5 separate regions of the Homo sapiens genome follow, and regions 1, 2, 3 and 4 are each linked to region 5. Evidence: promoter capture Hi-C in 16 types of primary human blood cells and fetal thymus (Javierre and others, 2016). All regions are on one chromosome and are shown on one strand. The core of a region is centred on a gene start or on the middle of the fragment in contact, and the rest is flanking DNA. Distances in the headings are between cores, read along the strand shown. Region 1 overlaps LGSN (lengsin, lens protein with glutamine synthetase domain). Region 2 has its middle 4.1 kb from the start of LGSN. Region 3 has its middle 55 kb from the start of LGSN. Region 4 overlaps LGSN (lengsin, lens protein with glutamine synthetase domain). Region 5 holds the start of PHF3 (PHD finger protein 3).

Evidence for each region. Contacts are between HindIII fragments. The CHiCAGO score rates a contact against its expected background, and 5 or more counts as called.
Region 1: a fragment that was not itself captured here is called in contact with the fragment with the promoter of PHF3 in region 5 in 1 of 17 cell types (monocytes); the score reaches 5.4 in monocytes.
Region 2: a contact is called between a fragment that was not itself captured here and the fragment with the promoter of PHF3 in region 5, in 1 of 17 cell types (neutrophils). The highest score is 6.5, in neutrophils.
Region 3: a contact is called between a fragment that was not itself captured here and the fragment with the promoter of PHF3 in region 5, in 2 of 17 cell types (monocytes and M0 macrophages). The highest score is 6.5, in monocytes.
Region 4: a contact is called between a fragment that was not itself captured here and the fragment with the promoter of PHF3 in region 5, in 1 of 17 cell types (neutrophils). The highest score is 5.2, in neutrophils.

The regions. Positions count from the first base shown.
Region 1 is chr6:63,298,081-63,304,004 of GRCh38, reverse strand. The region is part of intron 1 of LGSN (lengsin, lens protein with glutamine synthetase domain); the gene reads left to right. Among named protein-coding and RNA genes, the nearest start is that of LGSN, 19 kb to the left of the region's middle. The HindIII fragment of the contact is 4,384 bases long and covers 717-5,100 here.
Region 2 is chr6:63,321,186-63,326,926 of GRCh38, reverse strand. It overlaps a transcript of LGSN not described here. Among named protein-coding and RNA genes, the nearest start is that of LGSN, 4.1 kb to the right of the region's middle. The HindIII fragment of the contact is 2,686 bases long and covers 1,151-3,836 here.
Region 3 is chr6:63,372,622-63,378,180 of GRCh38, reverse strand. It overlaps a transcript of LGSN not described here. Among named protein-coding and RNA genes, the nearest start is that of LGSN, 55 kb to the right of the region's middle. The HindIII fragment of the contact is 169 bases long and covers 1,756-1,924 here.
Region 4 is chr6:63,270,224-63,276,013 of GRCh38, reverse strand. LGSN (lengsin, lens protein with glutamine synthetase domain) reads left to right here. Exons shown (of 4, transcript NM_016571.3): 4 at 1-63. Among named protein-coding and RNA genes, the nearest start is that of LGSN, 47 kb to the left of the region's middle. The HindIII fragment of the contact is 7,263 bases long and covers 1-5,790 here.
Region 5 is chr6:63,634,353-63,640,364 of GRCh38, reverse strand. PHF3 (PHD finger protein 3) reads right to left here and starts at 4,563. Exons shown (of 16, transcript NM_001370348.2): 1 at 4,215-4,563. RefSeq lists silencers at 3,789-3,968, 4,409-4,768 and enhancers at 3,986-4,806, 5,338-5,875. The HindIII fragment of the contact is 3,030 bases long and covers 2,554-5,583 here.

The DNA of each region.
Region 1 (5,924 bases), core at 1,659-4,158, 330 kb after region 5:
AAAAGTTAAGAAAGGTTAAGAATCTCACGATGGAAGAGAAGTCTTGTTCCATGATCTTGGGAAAGCTTTCTATGTCTAGGATGCCATCTGCTTCAAGGGAGAAAGTTCTCTGGTTAGCTTTACCTTAAGGTCTCTAACAAGTGTTTGGTTTCAAGAGGCTGGATGGGCCAGACTCAAGGTTCAAGGTCCCAGTATTTTACTGCAGTGTGAGTGGCAAGGGAAGTCTTTCTCTGATGGTGTTTCCAGAAGGCCCAGTCTCTAAGTTTTAGACCATGAAGGGTTTGACTGTACCCAGTCAGTGGATCATAAAAAGCTCCTTTTACCTAATGAAAATACACTTTGGCACAATGCATTGAAGCCTGCATTGTAGCATTTAGTCATATAAGAATTTAGGTGCAGAAGATACATAAGGTTCTATTATTAGAGGCCTTACAGTGACTATTTCATAAATGGTCAACTCATGTTTTGATTGGAAGAGGAACTGATTGTTATCAGTCTGCAGTACCTTTGACCAAGACAATTCAGTCCATTCAGTTAGACTTGCCTAATGCTATTATAGCTGTAACACCTTATGTTTTACAACTTGTCCAGTGAAACAAGTACCTTTATTGTTGGAGATTTCTCTAGGAATGTTCCATGAGAGAAACACATTTCTTGATAACCGTTAAGCTATTTTAGCTATTGTTATTGCATTAGCCTTCTTGCATGAGAAAGCTTGTATATAACTAGAAAACATGCATTACAAATGACAATTGAATAGAAGCCATCTGTAAATGTTCAAATGGCCCATCAAGTAGCAAAAATGTACCTGAAGTTTTTTTTGTCTTCCTAGGATTATGGATTTGACAAAGCAAAATAAACCACTTTGGCAACTTAGAATAGTCATGACACCAGTATATTTTTAAAAATATAATTTGGATGCAATCTCGGCTCACTTCAACCTCTGCCTCCTGGGTTCAAGCGATTCTCCTGCCTCAGCTTCCCGAGTAGCTGGGATTACAGGTGTTCACCACCATGCCTGAATAATTTTTGCATTTTTAGTAGAGATGGGGGTCTCACTATATTGGCCAGGCTGGACTCGAACTCCTGACCTCGAGTGATCCACCTACCTCGGCATCCCAAAGTGCTGAGATTACAGGCGAAAGCCACCATGCCTGGCTGAGTGTAGAGCTTTCAATGATGGCAGTTTTAATTACTTGAGAAGGACCAGGCAGCTCTCCAGACTCTCCATGAGTCCACACTCGACAATGAATTCATATTATCTTAAATACAAATTTCGTTTCTTCAATTTAGGTGCATAGCACTGCTTATCAAATGGGTTATTGTAGGCAATTTGACTTGAACCATGAACCTCATTCAAATTGCATATTTTAACAACATCAGTACTGGCTGATCTAGCATGGAAATCTGCTAAAGTATTTCCTTGGTATTCAATTAGTTCTTGTGCTACTTAAGTTGGCAATTTTATAAACTGGTCAACTTCTTCATTAGAGCTTTTAGTATTCCTATCCCGTCCAAATGTATATCATTCTAGAGTTATCAGAAACCTGTGTTCAAGAGTGTTTATGAGCATTCTTTCAAACCTTTCCATGAACCTCCTTGAGGACACAACATTTTAGGATTTTACTTGATTGTAATGAGCTTTAAGAAAGTTCATCAGAATTAATAAACTGTGAATAAGACTTAAAATGGTTATGGTTAAAGATGCAATTGACAAGGAAATTTGGCTCTTTCTGTATCCTATAATAATTTAACATAAATAAACATAATTATTGCTGATAACATATACTAAGACATATCAGAATATTAGGAGTCACATATAATTTTGAAATACATATTCATAATATATTCATAAAATATAACTCAGAGAATGTTAAGTACCATTTATTTTATGATGCTTTCCATTTTATTTAACATATCAAATAAGCCTATTTATTGTCTCTTTTTTGGATGCTTCAGGGACCTTTTGGAACATCCTAAAGTTAGTTTGAAGGAAAAAAGAGTTAATTTTAGAATTTGAAATTTGATTTTAGGAAGCCTATCAAATATGCCAAAGGTTTTAAACACTATCAAAATAGAATCACAGATTACGGCAAAATAATAGTAATTAATTTAGCCTAACTGATAATTAAAAGGTTTTCAAAAGCAAAAATCCTTATTCGTTGATGAAGAGGAGATTCAGTTTTCCAAATAATCAAAAGACATAATAAAGACAGCACAAAACAAAATCTGTCTCTCCTCTATTTTTCTTTGCATTTTACTCAAAAGGTGGACGAACATCTTTCACTCTTATTAATACTACAATAAATTCTTATTCAAAGGAGAAAACAGAATTTTACTTTTTTCCCCTGTGAACTCTGCAGAGAATTATGAATTTTACTTTTGTGTTAGTATATAATCAATACTACTGCTAATTTTAAGAAAACCTTATAAACAAATACATTCACCTTCAATCAGCTTTTGAACACACAAGATTTCCATAATCCTTTTTATAGCCTCTTGCATTTTTTTCTATTTTCCCCCAACCTTGAATATCCATTTAATTTTATTTATATAATTTTTTCATTTTGAAAGAACCTTTAAATAACCTCTAAACTAGACAAAATTATTTTTTCTCAACAAATACACATTTTAATTTTCTCATCAAAAACAATCTTGCTTTTCTTGTACACTTTACATATAGAATTATTTATTTTATTGTATTTATTTTTTTTAAGACAGAGTCTCATTCTGTCACCCAGGCTGAAGTGCAGTGGCGCAATCTTGGCTCACTGCAACCTCCACCTCCCAGGTTCAAGCCATTCTCCTGCCTCAGTCTCCCTACTAACTGTGGTTACAGATGTGTGCCACAATGCCTGGCTAATTTTTGCATTTTTAGTAGAGATGGGGTTTCACTGTGTTGGCCAGGCTGGTCTCCAACTCCTGACCTCAAGTGATCCTCCCAGCTTGGCCTCCCAAAGTGCTAGGATTACAGGCATGAGACATCGTGGCCAGCTAAATTATTTACTTTAGTAGTTATAATTACATATATTAACTTAAATTTTAACTCTTAGTAATTCTAACTTCCAGTGTAAAACCTAGGAAGTTAATGATTTTGAAGTGTTTTATATCAGTATCTGCAGATAAAAACCATTTCATAATTGTTTAGAAAGATGTTTCCTCAATTATTTTTAATAGATCTAAATATATTTACATTTTCAATATCATATACAAATAAGATGCTAAGGCATAAATTTATGTTAATAATTAATACTTCAATATTTTAACTTCTTAGAAATGACTCAGATATTTAATGAGTATTTATTTCTGAATTTATTCTTATTTTTTATTTTTATTTTTTGAGATAGATCTTGCTTTGTCACCCAGATTGGAGTACAGTGGCATGATCTTGGCTCACTGCAATTTTTGCCTCCCATGCTCAAGTCATTCTCCCACCTCAGCCTCCCGAGTAGCTGGGACTACAGGCACACACCACCGTGCCTAGCTAATTTTTATATATTTTGTAGAGTTGCATCTCACCATGTTGCCTAGGCTGGTCTCAAATTCCTGGGGTCAAGTGATGCTCCCACCTCAGTCTCCCAAAGTGCTTGGATTATAGGAATGAGCCATTGCTCCTTTCCCTATTTCTGAATTTAACGCAGCTTTAAGATTTTAAGTTTCTGAAAATAATTTTGAAAAAATAACGTAGGTATTCTCCCTAATGTCCTGAGTGGCACCTAGGATGGCTAGGAAGGCCAGGGCCCATCTGGGTCCCTAATTTACACACCAGGTGTAGAGTCAAGGACTGAGGACAGAGCTATGAAAAGGATGTCTGGAGGATCCAACCCCTCTCAGCATGGCCAGCAGGCAAAGCTGGAGGAGGAAGGGCAGGGCCATAGTGGGCTTGGCTGTGTCCTGCTGCTAGTGGCCCAGGTACAGTGGACATACACGTCTCCAGGCCTCACCATGACCACCTCTCCAGGCCTCAGAATTCAAAGGCTCAAAATCAAAGATATAAGCTCACAGTAAGATGTGTGAAAGGCTTCAGGGGAACCCAGTAGCCAGCCTTTTCAGTGTCAGCTTACAGACAATCAAGCACGTATCAAAATTTGACAGAAGCAGCAATTTTATGACCCTAAAACATATAGCAAAAACAGCATAAACCTTTCTGACCAGTAGACCCAGAAAAAAAAGTCTGAATTATATTTAGTATTGACAATTCTGAAGACATTCCTATTTTATTTTGCCAACAATGTAAAAACTTGCTTCATTTGACAAATATTATATAAGATCAGAAAGAAATATCTGATACACATAACACTTACAGACATATAGACAGACACGGACAAGGGCAGAAGTTAAAATTTTCAGAAAAATTTTTCATTTACTAGTTTCCAAATAGTTTTTCTTTCCCCCAATTCAGACTATCAATATTCCAATTACCTGTTTCATTGTTCTAAGCAATTGTTAGCTAGAAAACCCTAAAATTTCACTTCTAAAAGGATGACTTTTAGGTAAAACAAGGTAGAAATTTTATCTCTCAAATGCATACAGCTGAGACTTTAGACCTAAATATTGTACCATCTTTTGCTCAAATCAAGGAGGGAGGATGTGGATAAATGCCCAGTTAAGACAGGATGGATAGGAAAAGGTACTTTAGAGGAGACTTGTTACATAAATGTAAGTCAATGATAAGAGTCTCTAGTAACTTAGTCTTTCCTCTCTTCCTGCTGCACAGAGGCAGACACCCTTAAAAATGGAGGTTTCCTTTATAGATGTAAATTTCCTTTACAGATATGTTTCAAAATAGCCAGCTAAATGCCAGAAAGGTGAATTTGGAGACCAATTTAGTTCAATAGGCAGTCTTTTTAAGTTAGCCACTATTTTTTAGCTAAAATTACTGAGTTCAGGTTGGAGCCCATTAATTAATAAGGCGAGGAAATAATTCTCTATGTGTGGACTCGGTATGGATAGCTCTGAAAAAGAAAAAAGCCTACTTTACTTGAGGGCCTACCTTTCATGAACACTTTATATAATTCTCTTTTTATCTTTGGGGCAGGATAGTAACTAAGCCAAAAGATTAGCAGATTCAATTTTTCTTATCAATTAGTTGCTTAAGCTTTTTGTTTGCCTTTTGAAAGGCTTTTAAAAGAGGCAATAGAAATATTAACATTTTTAAGAATGTTCTGCACATCAATAGGTGTCCCTGGATATGCCTAATTTGGGAGCCTTCATTTTTAAATGCAGTTCTTAAAGTGTGGTGTTGGTGTTGTTTATTTGGAGCATTCCACTATAATTTTAAATTATCTTTATAAGATTTTGCCATTTTTGTAAGTACTTGCAGCTTGTGGGACCTAATAATTATACATGTAGAGGTATGGGATAGACAAAAGTGGAGCACTCAGTTCATCAGAAATTAAGGATTCCATTTTTATATTGAAAATTGGTTTTGGCTCTCACATCTTGATCAACTAAGCCGAAGATTTTTCCCTACCTCATGCATTAGAAAAAGAAACAAAAGGGATAGAACACAAAATCCTGGTGAATTTCTGAAAGCCAGAGTTCACACCTTCTGCAGTATTGCCATTTACTGCCAGTTTGTCTAACCAGTCAGCCATCTAAGAATTCTAACTGGATATAATCCAATTAGTTATTGAGTCTAACCCAGTCCAGTGTCTGTCATGACTTCTGTACCCAGTTAAGATAAAAAATGTGCCCATACAAATTCAGATAGTCAAAACACAAACGCATGGGGATCTCCATAATCTGAGAGACAACTTACCCATGATCCCCAGTTGATTCGAGAGAGCAACAGATACAATGGAGCTGGTGTACCTTGCTTAATCACTCAGTGCTCCTGGGGGTTGCTGGAAGCTCTACTTCAAATCCCACTTCTGAGGCCATCTGTTAAAAGAAAACCTGTAGAAAAATTAAATTTTAAACTC
Region 2 (5,741 bases), core at 1,244-3,743, 310 kb after region 5:
AGCCCTTTGGCCCACCGCTGCACTATGGGAGCCCCTTTCTGGGCTGGCCAAGGCCAGAGCCCGCTCCCTCAGCTTGCAGGGAGGTGTGGAGGGAGAGGCGTGAGTTGGAACTGGGGCTGCGCACGGCACTTGCGGGCCAGCTGGAGTTCTGGGTGGGCGTGGGCTTGGCAGGCCCTGCACTCAAAGCAGCCGGCAGGCGCTGCTGGCCCTGGGCAATGAGGGGCTTAGCACCCAGGCCAGCAGCTGCAGAGGGTGTACTGGGTCCCCTAGCAGTGCCAGCACACCAGCGCTGTGCTCGATTTCTTGCTGGGCCTTAGCTGCCTTCCTGTGGGGCCTGAGGGCTCAGGACCTGCAGCCCGCCATGCCTGAGCCTCCCACCTCCTCCGTGGGCTCCTGTGCGGCCCAAGCCTCCTCAACAAGCGCCACCCCCTGCTCCACAGTGCCCAGTCCCATCGACCACCCAAGGGCTGAGGAGTGCAGGTGCATGGCACGGGACTGGCAGGCAGCTCCATCTGCAGCCCTGGTGCAGAATCCACTGGGTGAAGCCAGCTGGGCTTCTGAGTCTGGTGGGGATGTGGAGAACCTTTATGTCTAGCTCAGGGATTGTAAATATACCAATCGGCACTCTGTATCTAGCTCAAGGTTTGTAAACACACCAATCAGCACCTTGTATCTAGCTCAGGGATTGTAAATATACCAGTCGGCACTGTATCTAGCTCAAGGTTTGTAACACACCAATCAGCACCTTGTGTCTAGCTCAGGGTTTGTGAACGCACCAATCGACACTCTGTATCTAGCTACTCTGGTGGGGCCTTGGAGAACCTTTGTGTGGACACTCTGTATCTAGCTAATCTGGTGGGGACGTGGAGAACCTTTGTGTCGAGCTCAGGGATTGTAGGGATTGTAAACCCACCAATCAGTGCCCTGTCAAAACAGACCACTCGGCTCTACCAATCAGCGGGATGTGGGTGGGGCCAGATAAGAGAATAAAAGCAGGCTGCCCAAGCCAGCAGTGGCAACCCACTCGGGTCCCCTTCCACACTGTGGAAGCTTTGTTCTTTCGCTCTTTGCAATAAATCTTGCTACTGCTCACTCTTTGGGTCCACACTGCTTTTATGAGCTGTAAAACTCACCGCAAAGGTCTGAAGCTTCACTCCTGAAGCCAGCGAGACCACGAACCCACCAGAAGGAAGAAACTCCGAACACATCTGAACATCAGAAGGAACAAACTCCAGATGCGCCACCTTAAAAGCTGTAACACTCACCGTGAGGGTCTGCGGCTTCATTTTTGAAGTCAGTGAGACCCAGAACCCACCAATTCCGGACACATTATTACTGATTCTACCTTGCTACTCATTATTGGTTTGTTCAGGTTTTCTATTTATTCCTTATTCAATCTTGGTAGGTTCTATGTTTCTAGGAATTTCTCCTTTTCCTCTAGATTTTCCAGTTTGTTAGTGTATAATTGTTTATAACAGTCTCTGATGATCTTTTGTATTTCTGTGATATCAGTTATGTCTCCTTTTCCATTTCTAATTTTGCTTATTTGGATCTTCTCTCTTCCTGGTTAGTCTAGCTAGGGATTTATTAATGTTGTTTATCTTTTCAAAGAACCAATGTGTTTGGTTGAACCTTTGTATTATTTTATTAGTTTCTATCTCATTGAGTTCTGCTCTGATATTTATTATTTCTTTCCTTGCACTAGTTTTGGGTTTGGTTTGTTCTTTTTGTTTGTTTGTTTTGTGTTTTTTAATCAAGTTCCTTAAGGTGCATCATTAGATTATATATTTGAAAATTTTCTCCTTTTTTTTTTTTTTTTTTTTGAGACAGAGTTTCACTCAGTCTTCTAGGCTGGAGTGCAGTGGTGTGATCTCAGCTCACTGCAACCTCTGCCTCCCAGGTTCAAGAGATCCTCCTGCCTGAGTCCCCTGAGTAGCTGGAACTATAGGCGCTCAACCACGCCCAGCTAATTTTTGTGTTTTTAGTAGGGACGGGGTTTCACCATGTTGGCCAGGATAGTCTTGATCTCCTGAATTTGTGATGTGACCGCCTCGGCCTCCCAGAGTGCTGGGATTACAGGCATGAGCCACCATGTGCAGCCTCCTGTTTTTTTTTTTTATGTAGGTGTTTATTGCTATCAACTTCCCTCTTAGCAGAGCTTTTGCTGTACCCCACACATTTTGGTATGTAGTTTTTCTATTTTCATTTGTTTCCAAAAAATTTTTTTTTATTTTCTTCTCAATTTCTTCATTGACCCAGTGACCATTCAGGAGCATGTTGTTTAATTTGCATGTATTTGTAGAGTTTCCAAAGTTCCTCTTGATGTTGATTTTTAGTTTTATTTAATTGGAGTCTGATAAAACACTTGATATAATTTTAATTTTTAAAAGTTTGTTTAGACTTGTTTTGTGTCCTAACATATAGTCTGTCCTGGAGAATATTCCATGTGCTCATGAAGACAATGTGTATTCTCAGTTGTTTTATAAAATTCATTTAATATCTTACACAATCACAGAACAGAGTTAAGAGAAACCTGAGATCATCTTGCCCTAAACCACATTTTGCACAAAAGGAAACTGTTATCAAGAAAACTATGTGATATGTCTTTAAAAAACAGTGTTTCCTATAGAACTCAAGTCTTTAATCTGCTGGTTGTTTCACTACAGCAGCAGTTCTGAAAGTATGGTTCAGGGACCCCTAGGGATTCCAAGAACCTTTGAGGAGACTGTGAGGTCAAAATTATTTTCACAGTAATGGTAAGACTCTATTTGCCTTTTCATTCTCATCTAGCATTAGTGTATAGTGAAGTTTTCCAGAGGTTGCATGACATGGGCTGTATCAAAAGAATAAATGCAAGCCGGAAGCGGTGGCTCACGCCTGTCATCCAGCACTTTGGGAGGCTGAGGCAGGTGGATCACCTGAGGTCAGGAGTTCCAGACCAGCCTGGCCAACATGGCGAAACCCTGTCTCTACTAAAAATACTAAAAGTTATCCAGGTGTGGTGGCGGGTGCCTGTAATCCCAGCTATCTGGGAGGCTGAGGCAGGAGAATTGCTTGAACCCGGGAGGCGGAGGTTGCAGTGAGCCCAGATCGCACCACTGCACTCCAGTCTGGGTGACAGAGCAGACTGTGTTTCAAAAAAAAAAAAAAAAAGAATGCAAAAACATACGAGATTCCAGTGGTTTTTCTCTTAAGCTAGACATTAGAGCAATTTGTGAAAATAAGAAATCAATTTTCTATAAAAAATGCTATTTATGTTAATATGTACAATGCCCATTATTATTATATTTTTAAATATGCTAATATTGATTAACATAACCTGTGTGTGTGTGTGTGTGTGTGTGTGTGTGTGTGTGTGTGTGTGTGTATATGAGGTTTTGGTGCTCTCAAGAATTTGTAGATATTATCACAATAAGTAGAATGATGCCATTAAAAGAAGGAAACAAGGACAACACCAGCTACCAATTTTTTAAAATTAATGGTGTTATAAAAATGTCTTCTGTGAATAGACAGTAGAGACTCAAAAGGGTGGAGTGGGATGAGTGATGAGAAATTACTTAACAGGTACAATGTATACTATTCCGGTGATGGCTACACTAAAAGCCAAGACTTCACCACTATGCACTATATTCATGTAACAAAACTGCACCTGGACTCCATAAATCTTACAAATAAAAAGAAATGTATTCTGTGGCACTCTCCTTCTAAAAATAGCTTGGGCTGTTTTGGAATAATTTTTAACTTATTATATGTGATTGCAAGCTCCTTATGTGCCTTGGAATTCAGAATTTCATGCTTCCACTTTCACAACTGACTTCATTTAACTTTATGAAGCTTGTGCTAAATATATAAATGCTTAAGGATATGTGAAAATCATTGAAAATGCTAAATTAAAATGATTTTAAACTAGTTTTAAATTGTATCAACTTTACAAAATAATTTTTTTCAGGGAGTTACGCTGTTTTCTACTCATTGCTTACTTAGGTTTATCGAAGGGGCAGATGAGAGGAGAAATTCCCTTTCTGAAACAAATGAAAAGGACACACAAAAATATTCTTCAGTTTCCCTGCCAATGTGTGTTTCCGCTCAGCCCTGAATTCACTGATTTTCTACCTGTCCTCACTCCAATATTTTTTAATCATCGGTTTTAAATCTTAATTCTGTAAACAGATCTACCATTTTCTTAGAAAATGAGGTATTTCTGGGAAGAACTGAAAAGAAATGGGGACTGGATTCATGAAAGGAACTTTTGGGGGCCTTTGTGAACAGGAGTTCTAGAACCACTAGGGAAGCTCAAATATTACTCCTTATAATTTTTGTATGATGTTATCTTCAATAAAGGGTGTCAATGTAGTCTTCCTGTTAGGTATGTCATAATTAGATGCATATAAAGGAGGAACAAACCCATGCAGCTTCTAGAACAACAACAAATCGGGAGAAAGGTAGGGTGGAAGTATCCTTCTGTCGTGGTTGTTATGTTCTTATGCTGACCTGAAACCATATTTTTGTGATTCATGAAGGTCATAAGAAAGATTATTTCCTTCACTGAACTTGGCTATTATTCTCACAAGTCAGTTATTCCCTTGGTCTCATTGGGCATGTTTTCACCCTATTTCCTTATCAGTTAGTGCTGGGAAGACAAGAACTTTGTATTTTATACACTGTACTGTAACATATAATATATGTAAACATGAAACAAAAACAGATTCATTGTGATTTCATTTTCTCCCACAGTGAAAGAATAGATTTAATCCTTTACCTAATTTGCATCCTTTGCTCTTCCAATCCTGTTCAATAATTCATCAGAAGGCAGTAACTTAGTGGTAAACAACATATTGTTTCCCCTTGTTGGTACTTAGTAAGCTTTAGCTTCTGCAATCTGTTCTCATGAAATGAATCCCATAATTCCTTTAATCATTTTAGTTACTCTTCTCTGGATCCATTCAATTAGATTACAACTTTTTGGCAGGAGAAGTACTTGAGTTGAACGGTCTTTCCATATGTTGTCTCAGAAGAGTGGTAAGAGAAAGACTTGTATCATTTACATTCATGGCTCAATGACTATATTCATTTTGACTAAGATAGCTTTCTGGATATAGTACAGATTGAACAAATGCTTGTGAATGAAAGTGTTTAATATGGACTTATTGACCATTTATTATTTTTCTAATCTATTTGTTAAGCCCTTTACTGACATTTGGTTTTTCCTTTGGAAAAACTGATTCTAAATAATGGTAATACTTTTAAAATATGTATCATGCTAATACCATAAATTAGGTTATACACCATATGTCCAACCAAGCTTTAGAACACTTTTTACAAAAATGGGCAAATCAAGGTTCAGGAAAGGATATTATAAAAAAATCATGGATACACATTGAGAAGAAGAGATTGTCAAAATAAGGTAAGGAAAAGAAGATGAAATGAATCAAATTGCATATTCAATAACAATAAAACTCCCAGGAGAAAATTTGGGTAAGTAGTACTATAAAGGAATGATTTTTTTAAAACATGTCCCAATATGTAACTGAACATGTAAACCAGCTTGGAGTTCTTTTCTTTGATATAGGAAAGGGAACATTTCTGAAACAAAAACGAAATTTTTCACAAAACATTTTTTTCCATAGCTCAATGGCACCTGTTTTGCATGGAGACAAGCACATGCAAGAAAAAGTTGTAAAAGTGGAAGCAAATGTGGTCTCAGAAGAGGATTGAGAAAAACTTAGGTAAGGCTCTGGTAC
Region 3 (5,559 bases), core at 591-3,090, 260 kb after region 5:
GTGTTCATTAGATGCTGCAGCTAAACTGAAATTCTTTCAGTTCCTTGGTCATGCTTACCTGTCATCCTTTGCAAATACTTTTCTCTTTCTAGATTGCTTTTCCATCTCTTCTTCAAGTGTCTCTTTTTCTTTTTTTTTTTTTTTTTCAAAAATCTGGTTTAATCTTCTACCTAGACCACTAAAACCTTTCTCCATATCAGCAATAAGGCTGTTTTTCTTTCTTGTTATTCATCCTTTTTCTTTTCTTTTTTTTTTTTTTTTTTTTTTGAGATGGAGTCTCTCTCTGTCGCCCAGGCTGGAGTGCAATGGCACGATCTCGGCTCACTGCGACCTCCACCTCCCGGGTTCAAGCGATTCTCCTGCCTCAGCCTCCTGAGTAGCTGGGACTAGAGGCGCACACCACCACGCCCTGATAATTTTTTGTATTTTTGGTAGAGATGGGGTTTCATCATGTTGGCCAGGCTGGTCTCAAACTCCTGACCTTAAGTGATCCTCCTGCCTCGGCTTCCCAAAGTGCTGGGATTACAGGTGTGAGCCACCGTGCCTGGCCCAAGTGTCTAACTCTTTTCTTCTCTTCTTGGTCAGAACATCACTTTCTCTGGGAAGCTTATTTTGATCTTCTAGGTTTACGTTAGGTGTTCTTTCTATAGAATTATCCTGCACTTATCACACCATGAGGTAATTAGTTTCCTGCTTCTTTATCCTTGCACTTCTTTGAAGGATTGAATGAACCAACTCCCCAGGGCTGAGTTTGGAGAGCTGGGGCAAAAGGTGGAGTGAGGGAGGCAGCATGGCAGCATCTGGAAAGCTGTGGAAAATTTGCCTTCAGGGCATGCAGTTGATGGTTACCAACCCCCATTCTATTGCCTGGTTGATTGTTAGACCTCTTACACCTTCTGGGTTGCTCTCTGCCTATTGGCTTGCCATAATTCATAAAGGATACGTTAGCGTCTATTGCCAAAGATTAAAAAAGCCAGCTGGTTTCAGAATACTAAGTGGCAAATGTTTACTATAAGTCAGATGAAGACAGGCTGTTCCCTTAGCAATATTTTGCTCTAAGTAAGAGGAAAATTAGTCTAAAATTAATTTAAGCTATAAATTATAATGTCAAAAAGAATCAGTGCATATCTATCTACTTCTTTTTGAGGTATCATTTGCACCTAAAGTAATTTTCTTAATATGGGAGCAGTCTGTTTAGATTAGAAAAGCACAAGCAAGGCACTTCAAATACTATATTTTTCTTTTGTTCTGCTTTGTTCTGGGTTTGGAAGCCTAGGAACACTCAGCTGAATTGTGTTTGGACAAGAATAGTGGCCACTTGTGAATGTAGACCATTGTTAAAATGCACTTTGTATGTTCTAGTAAAAGTTATTCACCCCAAAATCTTGTTTTAGCTAGCAAACTGACTCAATCTGAAAGTAGATGAGTTTTAAAAAGTCAAATAAAATACAATTTCCTATTTCCTTTTTTCATTTTAAGCCTATTCTCTGATGATTCCTTTCTCATATTTAAAATTCTACTGGGCTCAGGTAAGAGGCAGTCAGATAATTAAAAAAGAAGTTAAAGAGAAATGCAATAGGTGAATGTTTTCTAGAAGCTCAGAAAAGGCTGAGTGTATCCATTGCCATTTGTTTGAGTCTATTAGGGAGCTATAGTGCAGAATATTGAATCTGAGCATAGTGATTTTTCTAGATGTCAGCATCAGTAGACAGAGGGCTTGCTCTTCATCAAGGCAATCTTTACCCTTTGTAAGCTTGGCTCTGAATAAATAGAAAGTATTGATTAAGAAAAGTGAGGAAAGGGTATAATTTTGATGTTTCTTAGGTTTTAGATAGTACTCCTGGTGTTTATTATCTGCATTGCTCTCTGCTGTGAGCCCAGGGTGTTTCTTCAGAAACGTTCTGTGTTCTGCCCTTAATAAGCTTTTGGGTTAAGTAAAAAAGAAATAGAAAGCTTTTTCTCTGCCTTTGAAGAGTGTAGGAATGGTTAGAGAGACAAAACACAGAAAATGTAAGCGCAATTAGCAAGCATCGGGGGAACATGGGCAAAATAATCTGGTATGAAGTAAGGTCTGTGGAGTAAAGAATCATATATCGTGGAGAGAGCATAGCAGTGTGTTAGAACGGGTTTGGACTGCTTGGGTTTGATATCATTCAGTACTATTATATTTAATTTGTGACATTAAGAAAATTACTTAATCCCTAGGCAAAATAAAGATAATACAACATTCACTTCATTTGGTTCTAAGGACCAAACAAGATAATATGTAGAAAGTGATTATCATGATACCTACAACATAGTATATGCTCAAAAAACATTAGCAATTATTATCAATATCATAGGCAATATTTTTGATTAGGGAATTATCTCACTTAAAGGAAGTAATTTTCTACTCACTTCCTAACATGCTATCTTTCTCTCTTGTTTTTCTTATCTCATTTCCAAACTCAGCATTATCTTGACCCTTTAAAAAGTTTCTTAAAGTTGAGAAATAATAAAACCTATTATTAAAAATAATGTACCAGCCAAAGGCAAACTGCCTTAAATGCATTACTCTCTAATCTCTCCAACAACTAATAAAGTAGATGGTGAGTACAGACGAATATATACATATCCACATAAATAAGTGTTTTCATATTTTGCTTCATATATCAACCTAGGGAATCTGAATAAAAAATGTTTCCATTTATGATCCAGCTTTTCTTGCAATTTCAGTGCAAACTAGTAGTAATATTTGCCAAGAAAGATCATAATTGCTATATAATAATATAAATATAAATATATAGTAATAATAGCTAACACTTATACAATTGTTGTCAAGCACTCTTCTAATATATACATATATGTATGTGTAAGAATTAATTTAATACAATTACAGAAAGTCAAATTGATTATGAGGACCACCAATAATGTATTCTTTTGGCCACTCTATACTGCTTTTTATCAGCTCTGGATATATTTAACCCAATTTTAAAATTCTGGAATTCCTTAATTTCTAGAATTTGTATCTCTCAGTCAATGGTTAAAAAAGAAAATGATTAAAAAACAAAAACGGAATTAATTCTTGATAACATGTTTTCTTATTGCCCCGGAAAATCAACAATGACATCAATAACAATAGAGTCTTATAGCCTAAACAGAGTTCCCATGATAATTAGGAAACATTTGTGTCAAAATGTCAAACTGTCTTCCCAAGATCAGGTTTTCCTAACATGTTTATTATCAGCAACTTTTTTTTTTCTCTTTTCCAGTCACAATTTCCTTTTATTACAAGACTGTACTTGCACAGCAATATTTCCTTAAGCAAGAGATGGAGATGTTCAGGAGTAGCACATGTAATACCTGAGCTAGGTGTAGGTTTTGTTATCAGGGATACTGTGGAAGACAATAACGGAAAGGGGCCTCATGCCAAGGATGCAAGCAGCCTCTAGAAGCTGGGGAAGACAAGAAAAACCATTTTACTTTCCAGCCTCCCTGTGGATCCATTTTGAACTGACTTCCAAAACCATAAGACAACACTTTTGTCTTGTTTTAAGCCATTACATTTGTGTTAATTTGTTACAGTGGCAGTAGTAAACTAATGTTGATACTAAATGGGAGGATCATTGTTCAAATCTGGTCTTCAAATGTGTCTATTCCAACTAAAATGTGTTTATGATCCTAAGTGATGTATTTTGTTCATTTTAACATCTTGGGAATTGAGATGCATCTTAGAATCAATGACATCTTAGAATTGCTGCTGGTCAGATGGCAAAGGTGCTGTAGTGGCGTTACCCTTCTTTTTGGAACCTAGAAGCACTGTCAACAAAATTTGCAGAAGGAGTATCAACTATTTCAAAGAAAATGTCAGAAAAATATCATGGCGCTCTATTGAAACCATTTTGTTTTGAAATAATTGCCTACTTTCAGAAAAAAATGATGCAAATAATTTGCATCAAAGATAACATTTTGCCACATTTTGTTTTACCATTCTATCTGTATCTAAGTAATATATATTGGTGTTTTTTTTTCTGAATAATTTGAGAGTAAGTTTCGGGCATGCAGACACAATGCCCTTTACACCTAAATAATACTATACTTCAATGTGTATATTCTAAAAATAAGGTCATTTTCTAACATAACCATAGTACAGACATCAAAATTAGTCCATTAGCATTGATGAAATATTCTTATCTAGACATTCCAATTTTGTCAATTGTCCCATGGATGCCACTCCCCCGCCACCCCACCCTGGCCTTTTTTGAGACAGAGTCTCGCTCTGTCTGTTACCCAGGCTGGAGTGCAGTGGCCCCATCTTGGCTCACTGCAACCTCCAGCTCCTGGGTTCAAGCCATTCTCGTGCCTCAGCCTTCTGATTGTTTTGTAATTTTGGTAGAGACTGGGTTTCGCCACATTGGCCAGGCTGATCTCGAACCTCTGACCTCAATTGATCAGCCCGCCTTGGCCTCCCAGAGTGCTGGAATTACAGGCATGAGCCACCACTCCCTGCCCCACAGATGCCCTTTTTTAGCAAAAGAAATAATTCTCGTCAGGGTCACATGTTGTATTCAATTGTCTTGTCTCTTTAGTCTCCTTTAATCTGAAAAATTCTTCAATCTTTCCTTCTCTTTTATGACCTAACATTTCTTAAGATTACAGGCCAGTTATTTTGTAAACGTATCTTAATTTGAGTTTGTTCTGATGTTTCTTCATGATTAGATTCAGGTTATACTTTCTGTGGTGGAGGAGAAGCGGGTAAGGAAAATCACAGATATTTATTTTCAGTGTAGCATATTAGGAGTTACCTGATGATGTCATTTTGTCTTATCACTGATGTTAACTTTGATTACTGGGTTAACATGACGTCACCAGGTTCCTCCACACTGTAGTTACTATTTTTCCTTTGGTAATCAACATGTATCATGTAGGAAGAAACTCTGTGCTCACTTAAATATCTTTTTTCTTTTCATCATTTCTTAATTGAGCACTCTTCTAAACCATAGGAACAAAATGGCTGTGGAGGAGGTAAGGGAGGTGGTGAGTCACATGTGTTTGCAAGCTGCTTGCATTGGGAGTCAAAGGGATGTCAGCCAGCTTTACATAGTCTCAAGTAGCACCAATGGCTTTGGTTCTTTGATAGATTATTTTATGAAATGCTGTGTCACCAGTGCAGTTAATGTAACAGAGGATATTTTGTGGAAATAAATTAAAACATGAGACTGAGCCCAAAAGTTAGACTTGGATGTAAAAAATTGTAGAAAGAAATAACCAATTTATTTACCTTAATTTTTTGGTATGTGCACACAATGATGTATAATAAAAATCTACATATAATTAAGTACAAAAGAACTTTTAAAATAAGTATAAATGAATATTCTTAGTGTTAGGAAAGCCTTTTGTCATGGTTTGTTTTTTTCTTTTTTATTAGTACATTATGGCATGTTTTACAATTATGGTGTCTTAGATTCCATATGATGGAAGATTTGACATTATAGGATAAGGACTTTGCTGATATAGTCCTTACTATTTTATTCTTTGCTTTCATTTCCCTCTAAATTGTATTCTTATATTTTCTAAAAG
Region 4 (5,790 bases), core at 1,893-4,392, 360 kb after region 5:
TGATACTTCCTAATTGCTAATTAGGATGTGAATTCTCAGAATAAAAGGTACAGATCTTACTTACATTTGCATTAATACTTCTTGTTCCTTGCATATGTTCTGGAATTCAATTAATGTTTAATCAATCAATGCATATGTTATTAGCATAGTACAATACTATGCTTGTCCAGTATAAAACACACAAATTCACCTACCCAGAGAGAGGGAGGAATAGAGACAGTGGAGAAGTCCAACAGTTTGTGTTTTTTTATTGATCCTGCAATTTCTGCCATTAGAACTTCTTCAGGTTTTCTGCTTCTAGAAACTCCTGAGTAAACACCATTTGATTAGCTTGATGGGGATCAAAAGAACAACAACAATAAAAACAAAAACAAAAAAGAGCAAGGTGAAGTTGTCATGCTTTTTAGCCATGTGGAACCTTTCAATAGCTCTCTTAGATTTGTGGAATCCCTCTTCTTTGGGCTCTTGTCTCAGAAAGTAGAAGTCAGAACCTCACCTTCCCAATTTCTCTTGCTGCCATTGAGAGGTGACAGCGTGCTGGCAGTCCTCACAGCCCTCGCTTGCTCTCGGCGCCTCCTCTGCCTGGGCTCCCACTTTGGCGGCACTTGAGGAGCCCTTCAGCCCGCCGCTGCACTGTGGGAGTCCCTTTCCGGGCTGGCCAAGGCCGGAGCCGGCTCCCTCAGCTTGCTGGGAGGTGTGGAGGGAGAGGCGCGGGCGGGAACCCGGGCTGCGCGCGGTGCTTGAGGGCCAGCGCGAGTTCTGGGTGGGAGTGGGCTCGGAGGACCCTGCACTCGGAGCGACCGATCGGCCGGGGTAGTGAGGGGCTTAGCACCTGGGCCAGCAGTTGCTGTGCTCAATTTCTTGCCTGGCCTTAGCTGCCTTGCCTCGGGGCAGGGCTCCGGATCTGCAGCCCACCATGCCCGAGCCTCCCCCTACTCCGTGGGCTCCTGTGCGGCCCCAGCCTCCCAGACGAGGGCCGCCCCCTGCTCCAAGGCGCCCAGTCCCATGGACCACCCAAGGGCTGAGGAGTGCCCGCTGGTGGCACAGGACTGGCAGGCAGCTCCACCTGCAGCCCCTGGTGCGGGATCCGCTGGGTGAAACCAGCTGGGCTCCTGAGTCTGGTGGGGACGTGGAGAACCTTTATATCTAGCTAAGGGATTGTAAATACACGAATCGGCACTTTGTATCTAGCTCAAGGTTTGTAAACACAGCAATCAGCACCCTGTGTCTAGCTCAGGGTTTGTGAATACACCAATCGACACTCTGGATCTAGTTACTCTGGTGGGGACTTGGAGAACCTTTGTGTGGACACTCTGTATCTAGCTAATCTGGTAGGGAGGTGGAGAACCTTTGTGTCTAGCTCAGGGATTGTAAATACACCAATTGGCACTCTGTATCTAGCTCAAGGTTTGTAAACACACCAATCAGCACCCTGTGTCTCGCTCAGGGTTTGTGAATGCACCAATTGGCACTCTGTATCTAGCTAATCTGGTGGGGAGGTGGAGAACCTTTGTGTCTAGCTCAGGGATTATAAACGCACCAGTCAGCGCCCTGTCAAAACAGACCACTGTGCTCTACCAATCATTAAGATGTGGGTGGGGCCAGATAAGAGAATAAAAGCAGGTTGCCTGAGGCAGCACTGGCAACCCGCTGGGGTCTCCCTCCACACCGTGGAAGGTTTGTTCCTTCGCTCTTTGCAATAAATCTTGCTGCCCTCACTCTTTGGGTCCACACTGCCTTTATGAGCTGTAACACTCACCGCGAAGGTCTGCAGCTTCACTTCTGAAGCCAACGAGACCACGAACCCACTGGGAGGAACGAACATCTCCAGACGTGCCACCTTAAGAGCTGTAACACTCACCGCGAAGGTCCGCAGCTTCACTCGTGAGACCACGAACCCACCAGAAGAAAGAAACTCCGAACATCAGAAGGAACCAAGTCCGGACACGCCGCCTTTAAGAACTGTTAACACTCACCGCGAGGGTCCGGGGCTTCATTCTTGAAGTCAGTGAGACCAAGAACCCACCAATTCCGGACACACCATGGTACAAGGACTCTGCCAATCAGATGCAGTCATAAAACATGGACTCCACTCTGCTGAGCTTGAGGGAGGCAGCAGCGACAGGCATCCATGGGTGCCATCCTGGGGTGGCATTGTGGGGGGGCATTGGTGGTGCTATTGCCAGTGCCAGTGGCTGTCGGGTCTCTGGAACAGTCAAGCCTGTTCTTCTGAACCTGATTTTCTGGCCCTCCGAGATTCTATTAAATATCTAATATTTTTTAAATAAATTTCTTTTTTTCTTAAAGTAGCTAGAATTTTTAAAAAGAAGCCTGACTGAAAAACAGTATATAAAAAGACACGCGAAGAGCAAGAAAACTTTGATAAAAGAGAAGAAGAAAGAAAGGCAGAGAATTACTCTTAATCAGAAGACTAGGAACAATTGAATGTTTATACTAGATACGGATTAAACAAAGGTTTATTAAGCTCTTAGTACATAACATACATCGTGTGGGCACTTTCTCATTCATTTCCTTATTTCATGCTGTCTACAATTTTATGAGAAAGGTAGACTTATTATTTTTAAAAACAAGAGATTTAAGACCCTAAAAAGTTGTTGTGTTGAACGAACTAGGAATCAAATCCAGGTTTCTACTTTCAGTCTCATGGTCTCTGTGCTACACCAGAATGCCCTTCACTACAGTCTCAGCTAAGTACAATACTGAAAATTTTGCTGAATATTACATTTTAGTTTTAAGGCTTCTAGGCATTAAAATGAACAGAAGTAGGTAGTAGATACATGCTTGATAACTCTATCCAGGCCAGAAGGTCTTATGACAAAGAAGTATGATGCCATAACATTATTTCAGAACTTTGGTCAGATAACAGTAATTCAAGCCTTAAGTAGTTTCTTAATTTGTTTGAACACAAAAAACACCTGGCTGAAATTTCTGACCATCCTTAGAATTTGAAATAGTGCCAATCAATTTATTTTGTTTCATTTTTAGAAATATTCTTTGACAAGAACTCTGCATTCATTGAGAGCATAAAAGAGTTGATACTTCTCTCTGGCTGCTTAAGAAATAAAAGATAAGAAAACACACTGATTTTTGAAAATAGCCAACCTATATGGAGGCGAAATGTGTAAATTAAGGGAAAAAGAAATTGGCTGAGAACCTGCTACACAATGACATAACAAAGGTTTTCTTGTCTCTTCAAGATGTTTCCTAAGATTAATAAGATCAGTTTTACCTGGAAAGAAAAATAACACTTTAATTAATAACTATAAAAATTTAATGTTTATAAAACTGCTAATATAGGATTCATTAAATACAAATGAATATCAATGTATTGGGCATATCCAAGAGACTACTGGATAAATTGTTACATTATAGAAAACTTTTCAAACATAAGCTAGAGGGCAGCAACGTACCATTAAACAGTGTTGGCTCAGAATTCAGAGCAAAGCTGAATATTAAACATAAAAGTAATTGGATTTTCAATCTAGTTACTTTGAATAAATGAAAATTGAAAAAATGTATTAGAAATACTAACAGCAGAAAGGCATTCCCAATCACATGACTTGCATTTGAATATTTTTAGGTTAATAGATATTAAATACAGGCTCAATATCAGAGGGGGGGGGAAAGGAGTGTTGACAGGATACGATATTACCAATATTTAAGGGTACATTCAAGAGACGTAGAAATATGAAACCATAGAAACATTAGCTGCATTCTGTAATGCCTAAAATTAATCTAAATGTCTTAAATTTTGGATGACTCTACAATAGATTTGAAATAAATAAGTCTGAAAAGAACTAAAGAAGAAATCTTTAATAAACTATGAAAAAAAGAAAATCCAGTAATTTGTTACTTATTTGGAGGTTCATTAAAATGAATCACATTATAAGAGCTTCTACAATATCTACAAATTAAATAAATGCTACAAAGTGTCTTCTTTCTGTGATCACTAGAAAACATATATATCAATTCACTTTTTATGAGGTAAACAGAAATGATACTTCAGTGTTTGAAGTGAAAAAGGATTGTTAGATAATGAATTGTTGTTTAAGTTAGACACTAGGTAGCATTTTTATTCAATTTTTGAAATAATTGCTTTTGAGAGCCATTTGTATGTAAGTTACGAAGGGGAAGATACAAAACTGGACAATACATGTTTTTCTCCCACAAAGAGCTTTTAACTTTAAGTGAGAGAACAAATGTTTCTAAATGTCTATGGATGGAGGATAGAATTTATGTGGTGAGGAGAGAACAAAACAGCATAGAGGAGGATGCCATTGATCAAGCAATGCGAAGTCTTGGGCTGGATCACAGACTTCTTTGGCTCCAACTACCTTTCTCACTGGATGGCAAGGGTTATAAGGTCCCATGTCCCCAGCACTTGAAGAAGGAAAAGAAATGTGGCTAGCAAAGGGCAGATACAACTAACTCTAATAGTGCTGTGTCCCGTGGCCACACTTCCTTAATTCCCTGACAAAGAACAGGCGTCTTATCTCAGACTTAGCACTTTTCTTCCTTCTCTTAACTTTCAGTGCAAGGGGTGCCTCTCATTGTTGGCAGGATCCCACCCCTGTGGCCTTCTCATGCGAGTACCCAATCTCTACTGTATCTCCAGTATGTTCCTCTCCTGGTGTTTCTTTCCCATCAGAATTTAAGCACATTGACATGGTTGCAAGGTGCATAATGCACACGCGCGCGCACATACACACACACATACACACGGAAAAAAATCTATTAATCCGAAGTACCCTTCTCACTTCTGTCCTTGTCTTTAAAATCAAATTTATTGATTAAGTTACATGTCCTTGCTCTTTCTACTTCCTCTATTTACTCCTCATAGCTTCCCATCACTGCCCCCAAATATTTTCGTTTCTACCTCCACCAGTCCCCTTCAACTGTTCTCACCAAGGTTAATCATAACCTTCCACTTGTTAAATACAGGGGACATTTCTCATTCATGTTTTATGACGAGTAAACAGAATTTGAAATTGCTGACCTCTACCTCTTTGTCAAAATGGTTTTCTTTTGACTTGAAAGGCACTAGAGGTTCTAGATGTTCTTTCTCTGGCCACTTCTCAGCTTTTCAATGTCTTGTGAATTCCTCTTTTCTGCCTGAAATTCGATGTTGAATATTATTCAAGATCCTTCCATTCTTGGTCCTTTCTTCCCTCTAAAAATTGTCTCCACAACATCTTATTTATTATTACTATTATTTTCCATGGATTAAGACATTTATTTATTTATTTGTTTATTTATTTATTTTTGAGACACAGTCTCATTCTGTCACCCAGGCTGACACGATCTTGGCTCACTGCAATCTCTGCCTCCCAGGTTCAAATGAATCTCCTGCCTCAGTCTACCAAGTAGCTGGGATGGCAGGCACGCACCACCATGCCTGGCTAATTTTTGTATTTTTAGTAGAGACAGGGTTTCATCATGTTGGCCAGTCTGGTCTTGAACTCCTGGCCTCAAGTGATCCACCCGCCTCAGCCTCCCAAAGTGCTGGGATTACAGGCATGAGCCACTGTGCCTGGCCAAGACTCTTGGTTTAAAGTAATGGAAATCAAACTGAACCTGATTAAACAAAATAAGGAATTTTTTTGGTTGAGATAGAAGAGTGCCTCATGGACTCTAAGACCTTCAATGTGTCTAGGTGTTAGGAATGAATCTAACCTGAAACTGAAGCACTGTAGATAACCCAGGACATCTTTTCTATCTGTTCTTACCTCTGTTGTGTTTCTCCTCATGCCAGCATCATCCTTTCACTCC
Region 5 (6,012 bases), core at 3,314-5,813:
CTCAGATCCACTCTGCATTACACTAAGGTCAGTTCTTAACTACTATGATATAACAACACTAAAGATGAATCATGGGTTATCCATCCTTCGAGGACAGAGTCAAAAATTAATAAGTGGTTAGGCCATGTGGTATGACACAATACTACAAAGTATCATTCTACAAAGCAATTCAACCTAGTCATCTACTCTACACCCCCACTTCAAATCTGGTTCAGTTTCGTTAGTTAGAATCTATTGGCAAGACATCATTATAGAAAGCAAGGATCATAACTTTTCTAAATGTATCTGGTAAAAAGAAGATATCAAAGTGTCTGCTGCACAAAGACAACTAAGACCAAAGCAGACCTAAGTCCCTAGGAAAGGATCTGAAGATGTTGAAACTGGCAAACACAGAATTACAGTAGCCAACAGTAACAAGAAAGAGTTAACTTCAAAGTTTACAACTATATTGGCATTATATCATAACTGACATTATAAGCATTAGGAATTTGAATAAACCACCAAAGTAGTGGACCTAGCTCATCATTAAAACTATGGCCTAGGGAGTAACAACCCAAGCTAACGTGTAATTGGCACACACTATATGCCAGGCCCTGTGTATCGTATGCATTATCTCATTAGTTCCTCACAGCGACCCTATAAGGTAGGTGCAATTATTAGTCCTTTCTCTTTAGAGCAAACTGAGACCTAGATAATTACATAATTTGCCCAAGGTCACATACCCAATATTCCTACATTTGAACCCATTCAGTGTGATTCCTGAGCCTACACTTTTACACTCTATAATGCACTCTACACATTAATTTTTATGCTTTTAATATATCATTAATGAAATCTTAAAAAATGCTAGAAACAAAAGTGACTCATCCTTCTTCCAAAATAAAACAGGAATATGCACTTAGCCACCCTCTACACATTTAAAAAAAAACAAAATGTAAGCCTCAATGCATATGAACATCATTGGAGGAAAAGCAATTTATCAGCTACAAACTTTTCCATTTATTTTCAGTCTAAAACTTTATGCTTTCATGTGCCCAGCTCATGCAAATTACAAACGAATTAAAATGTTAAAGTTCAGCCTTTCTGTATAATCTACCACGCTCTTCGAAACTGTCTAATAAAGTTAGATTATGCCAACAGGTTAAAACTTCTGGAAATATCTTAAAATTTTTACTGAACTATTTCTCTATATCCACTCTTCACTGTATAATAGTCATAAAATTTTAAAATACCATTAAAAATGGTCTAAATTAAGCACATTATGCAGGACAATAATTGTCAAGTCCACACATATAGCAATTCCTCATAAAACTCTTGATATTTTCCCCTTTAACTCTAATACACTGATTAACATCAGATGTCAATGAATCTTGTTTCCCAGACTATAATATCTTTACTGAGAATAGAAACAGCCTCAGGGTCTCATGTATGTTTAATCACATCAATACTCTCAATATCTTTCCATGTGTAATCAAAGGGCAACAATTAAAGAATATTTTTTGACTGTGTTCTCAAAAATGCAACAGTATCATAAATGTCTAACAGTTTGCCAAGCAATTTTTATAGTTGAAAAAGTGTCTATCCTTCTGAAAAGATACTCCAGAATTCTGAGAGAGTGCTCCAAGAAGAAATAAGAGAAACAGAGCCCAAGATGTACTTTTCCAGAAAAGAAAAAAATCCAGCAGCCACTTGTCAGAAAGAATTCTTGAAATGTGGATGAATAAAAACTGTTAGAAATCAGCACCCTAAGAATCCTGAACTCCTTGACACTGTGTGGTGAAATATGTATTGGTAATACACAAACCTAAATGTTGACCAAAAAATCTCATTATCTCACTAAAAAACAGAAAAGTTATTATCTCCAGAAAAAACATATGTAAAAAGGATTTTATGAGAAATTTAAATGGATCTTAAGAAGGCAAAATGTATCAAAAAAGCAAACACCATCCCACCATGTTAAGGAAGATAAACATCATCTATTTCAGTAACTGAAACACAGAATTGTATGTATAATTTTCATTCACCAGTTTTTCCAAGTAGGCCTTATACTATGAAAAAAATCTAAGCTCTTGATTTTGCAATACTCCAAATTGCCACTTGCTGCCTCCCAACTTTTATAAGTAATACATTACATAAGTCAAAGACTGTCAACTTTCCTAGTGGATTCCAATACTCAATAAAATTTAAATTTTAATAACATAGTTTGAAATGATTAAAGACAAATTCCTTTCGATTTTTCTATCTTGAAATGTGCATCTGACCAAACCAATTTTTTACCTACATTTACATAGACCACTTCTCAGAGGTGACTTTTCTGATTATGCAACATATAAGTATACCATAAGATCAACATGATAAAGTTATCTGAAGTCTATCCCAACAAGAGAGAATGCATAATTCACGTGTATGCAAAAGCAGTAAAATAAACTATATTTTTCTATTCTTCAATAAATGAACCTATAAAAAATGTAAATAAGAGGCAAACTTTGGTCCCATCACTGGCTCATTTTTATCATTTTGACAAATTACCGAGTACAGCTATCTGAAAAAGCTTAAAATCTAAAGTTGTAATCTTTTTACATAAAAGTAGCCCGTTTCGGGACTGATTGTGTGGCTCAATCAGAGGAATCATCACTCCTAAAAGTCTGCCACTAAACTCTGCTACTATCACCAGAAAATGAAGTATGTATTGTAAAATAATAATAACAGTGATAATGACGATGATGAAGGAAAGAATCATTATGGTAATATATAGCCAGTAAACAGATGAATGAAGAGAAAAATTAGTGGGGAAAAGGTCTAAGTGATAACTAAACTTTAAAATTACTATTTAAAATAACAATAATCTTTACACAACACCTTTTTGTGCTGTGGAAGGGAGCTATAAATTCAAAAACATAAGTATGCTACAATAGAAAAGTTTCTGGTGCTTTGACTCAACATGTCGCTCTAACACAAACATACATCTTTTTCTACAAATATTTTCACAGTTCCAAACACTTCATTCAGGAATCGAAAAATGAATAATGGAGGCGTAGTTTTGTTAGGCCTTTAACAATCATTTTGTCAAAGGGAAGACAAGTTCGACCCCAAAATAGTAACTAAATACAACAACGTACTGTTTAAGTACTCCCTACAGAGTTTACTGCATTGGTTTTTAAATTTAGCTTAAAATAAGATAGTAAAGTTAGTATTTAGAGAAGCCTCAATAATCGATTATTCTTTTTAAATTAAATATCGCTACATGTAATGCAGATTAGGACTAGAATATTAAAGCAGTGTTGCCACTTAACATTAATCCATGAACATATTCTACGCGTGACTACTGGAAAGCACTAATAACCACCCCAATCTAGTCTCTAGGAATTGGCATTTAAAAGCCCAAAGATGGAAAAAGGTCACCTAACCCGGCAACACATCCTGAGGGAAAGGAGGGACACAGGACTCCGTGCGCGATATCAACATTCTCTTCCTTTCTACTCTCCGCACCGCCCCCGCCCCCCGTGTCAGGTGATCAGTTATTTAGCACCATTAACACGTACGTATCGACAAGTGGTTCATTAAATTACATGTATTATCGGAAGGCAAGAGTCTAGGCTTCTCATTTCAAACTAAGCAAAAGGAGTCCACAGTTTGAGTCCCGGGCACAAAAGCGCGCGGTAACTGGAGGATAAATGGAAGAGCAACTCTCATCTCCAAAAAGCAGCAGCAGGGAGCAGCCTAGCAGCCAGGGCCAGTCCCAGTTTCCCGAAACCAAGGCCCAAAGCTCCATGCTGGGGCTCCCTGAGAAGGAAGAGGCCCCAACGGCCGGATCCGGGGGCCTGCGAGACGGGCCTTCCAGGCAGCGCCCGCCGTGCCTCGGGCCTGCGCGCCCGCGCCTCAGCGGCGGCGGGGCGCCCTCGCAGCAGACGGCTGGGTACCAGTGGTCGGGAGAGAGGCCGTGGTCCCGACCCTCCGCCTGGCGACCGCGTCGCTGCGACTCCCTCCCCAGCCCGCGGTCCAAATGGTCCACAGGCGCCAGCGGCGCGGCCCAGGTAGGCCGAGGACGTTGCGCAAGAGGCCCGAGAGGCGATCTCTCGGCTGCGCGGGAGAAAAGCGCGGAGAGTCCGCCGCGGGAGGGGCGGAGAGGCCCGCGGAGGCGCTGTGCGTGTGGAAGGGGATGGGGGAGGGGAGGATTGCCCGTCTCCCTGGCCGCGGCCACAGCCGCAACTCACCCAGCTCCGCCAGACGAGCGCTACCACTGGCAGCAAGAGGAAGATGGTGGACGCTGCCGCCGCCGAAGAGGAGGAGGAGGGGGCCCGGTGGGTGCCGCGGAGAGGGGGTACGCGCAGGACGTCGGCGTCGCTGCCACAGCCTCTTTTCCTCCTGGGACCAAATGGCTGCTGCTGACGACACTATTCTTGGCTTCCGCGCCGCCCTCCTAATCCTCGTTGCAGCCGCCGCCGCCCTGAGCCCGAAGGTCGCTTGCCGCGTGGGGACGGTGCGACGGCGCGAGACCCCGCAGCCATCGGCGTGCGGCGGCGGCGCGGGAGCTGGAGAGGGGCCGTGTCACGTGACCCCACTGTTTACCGTTCCGGGGGCCGCGGCCTGCGTCGCTGCCGCGCCTGCGCGCTTTAGGGCCTCGAGCGCCGCGCCTCCGTGGGGCCCCGGGCTGCAGCGCTTCCCGGCGTTGCCGCGCCCCTCCCTGTCTTCGGAGGACGCGGCACCGCCTGCGGGCTTCTAGCTCACACCTCCGCGCCGCCGGGAGGGGCGAATCAGAGGAGCGCTTTTTCTCGACCGTAGTAAGCACTAAGGCTTCACAGTTAATATAATATTGATGCGCAGCTCCCCAACCCCAGGTACTTTTTATTAATTGACTGTGAGTTCAAGAATGGTAGAATAGGATGGAGTAGATGAGCCCTCTGCCCAAATATCTGTGCTGGCTCGGCACAGCAGCCTTACCATTAACTACCTCCGTTACCCTCACCCTACATGGCTGATCTACCTCAGGACTCAAATTGCTACCTCCAAGAAACATTCTTGGTATCCAGTAAGCAGTCTTCAGAATGTGGTCCCAGGTTTCCCTGAGGGGTCGCCAAGACCTTTCAGTAGAGCCTCCATTCCTTTGCCAGGAGCATGTGTCTAAGGCCAAATTTTCTTCCCACCCTTCAACCAAAACAGCATATAGCAGCTGATTCAATGCAGAAACAGATAAGAGAATCCAGCCATCTTCTATTAAGCCAGACATTGAGGAAATCTGCAGAAATTTTAGATATCACCCTTTTATTAATTTGGAAAATATGCTTTTCATAAATACATTATTTGTGGTAACAAATATTGTGTAGAGGTCCAGAGACAAAAAAAGTTTGAGACCCACTGGTCTGCTTCCACAGACACTTGAGCTAACCCCTATCTCAGCCCTTAATAAGCGCTGTGAAGTAATTGTTGCTTGTCAGTCACTCCAACCAAAAGGAGCTACTTAGGGACAGGGTTTGTGGCTTTTATCTACAGGGACTATTACAGTATTCAGCCAGTACCTGCTGAGCACCTTACTGTGTGGTCTGCACTGTTCTAAAACCTTTACAGTACTTGTTGATTTAAGCTTTAGACCAACCGCAGCCCACATTGTAAGATTAGTGCAGGGTGGAAGAATAAGTCACAGGCATGTGGTGAAGATCTGTTCTTTCCTCTCTCTAGTCTTCTGATATTTTAAGCACTCTTAATAGCAAATGCTCTTCTACAAAGGAAGTTTGGGTTGTCCTGATTCCACTGGATTCTTAAGAGTTTCACCCCCTGTCTTGACTAATCAATCCCTCAAGACTTTGTTTTACAATCTTTTTGTAATGTGTTTTTGAGAAAGGAAAATAGAAATGAGTAATTTTTTTTTTTAATTCTCACTTGGGATGTCTGGGATGAATTATAAAAACAAGCCTAATGTTATTCTTACTCTTCTGGTGGATCTCAGTGTGACGTTTTAAAAGGGCGTTCAGAAAAAGTAAAATTATTGTTATAAACAAAATCCAACCCCGAAGG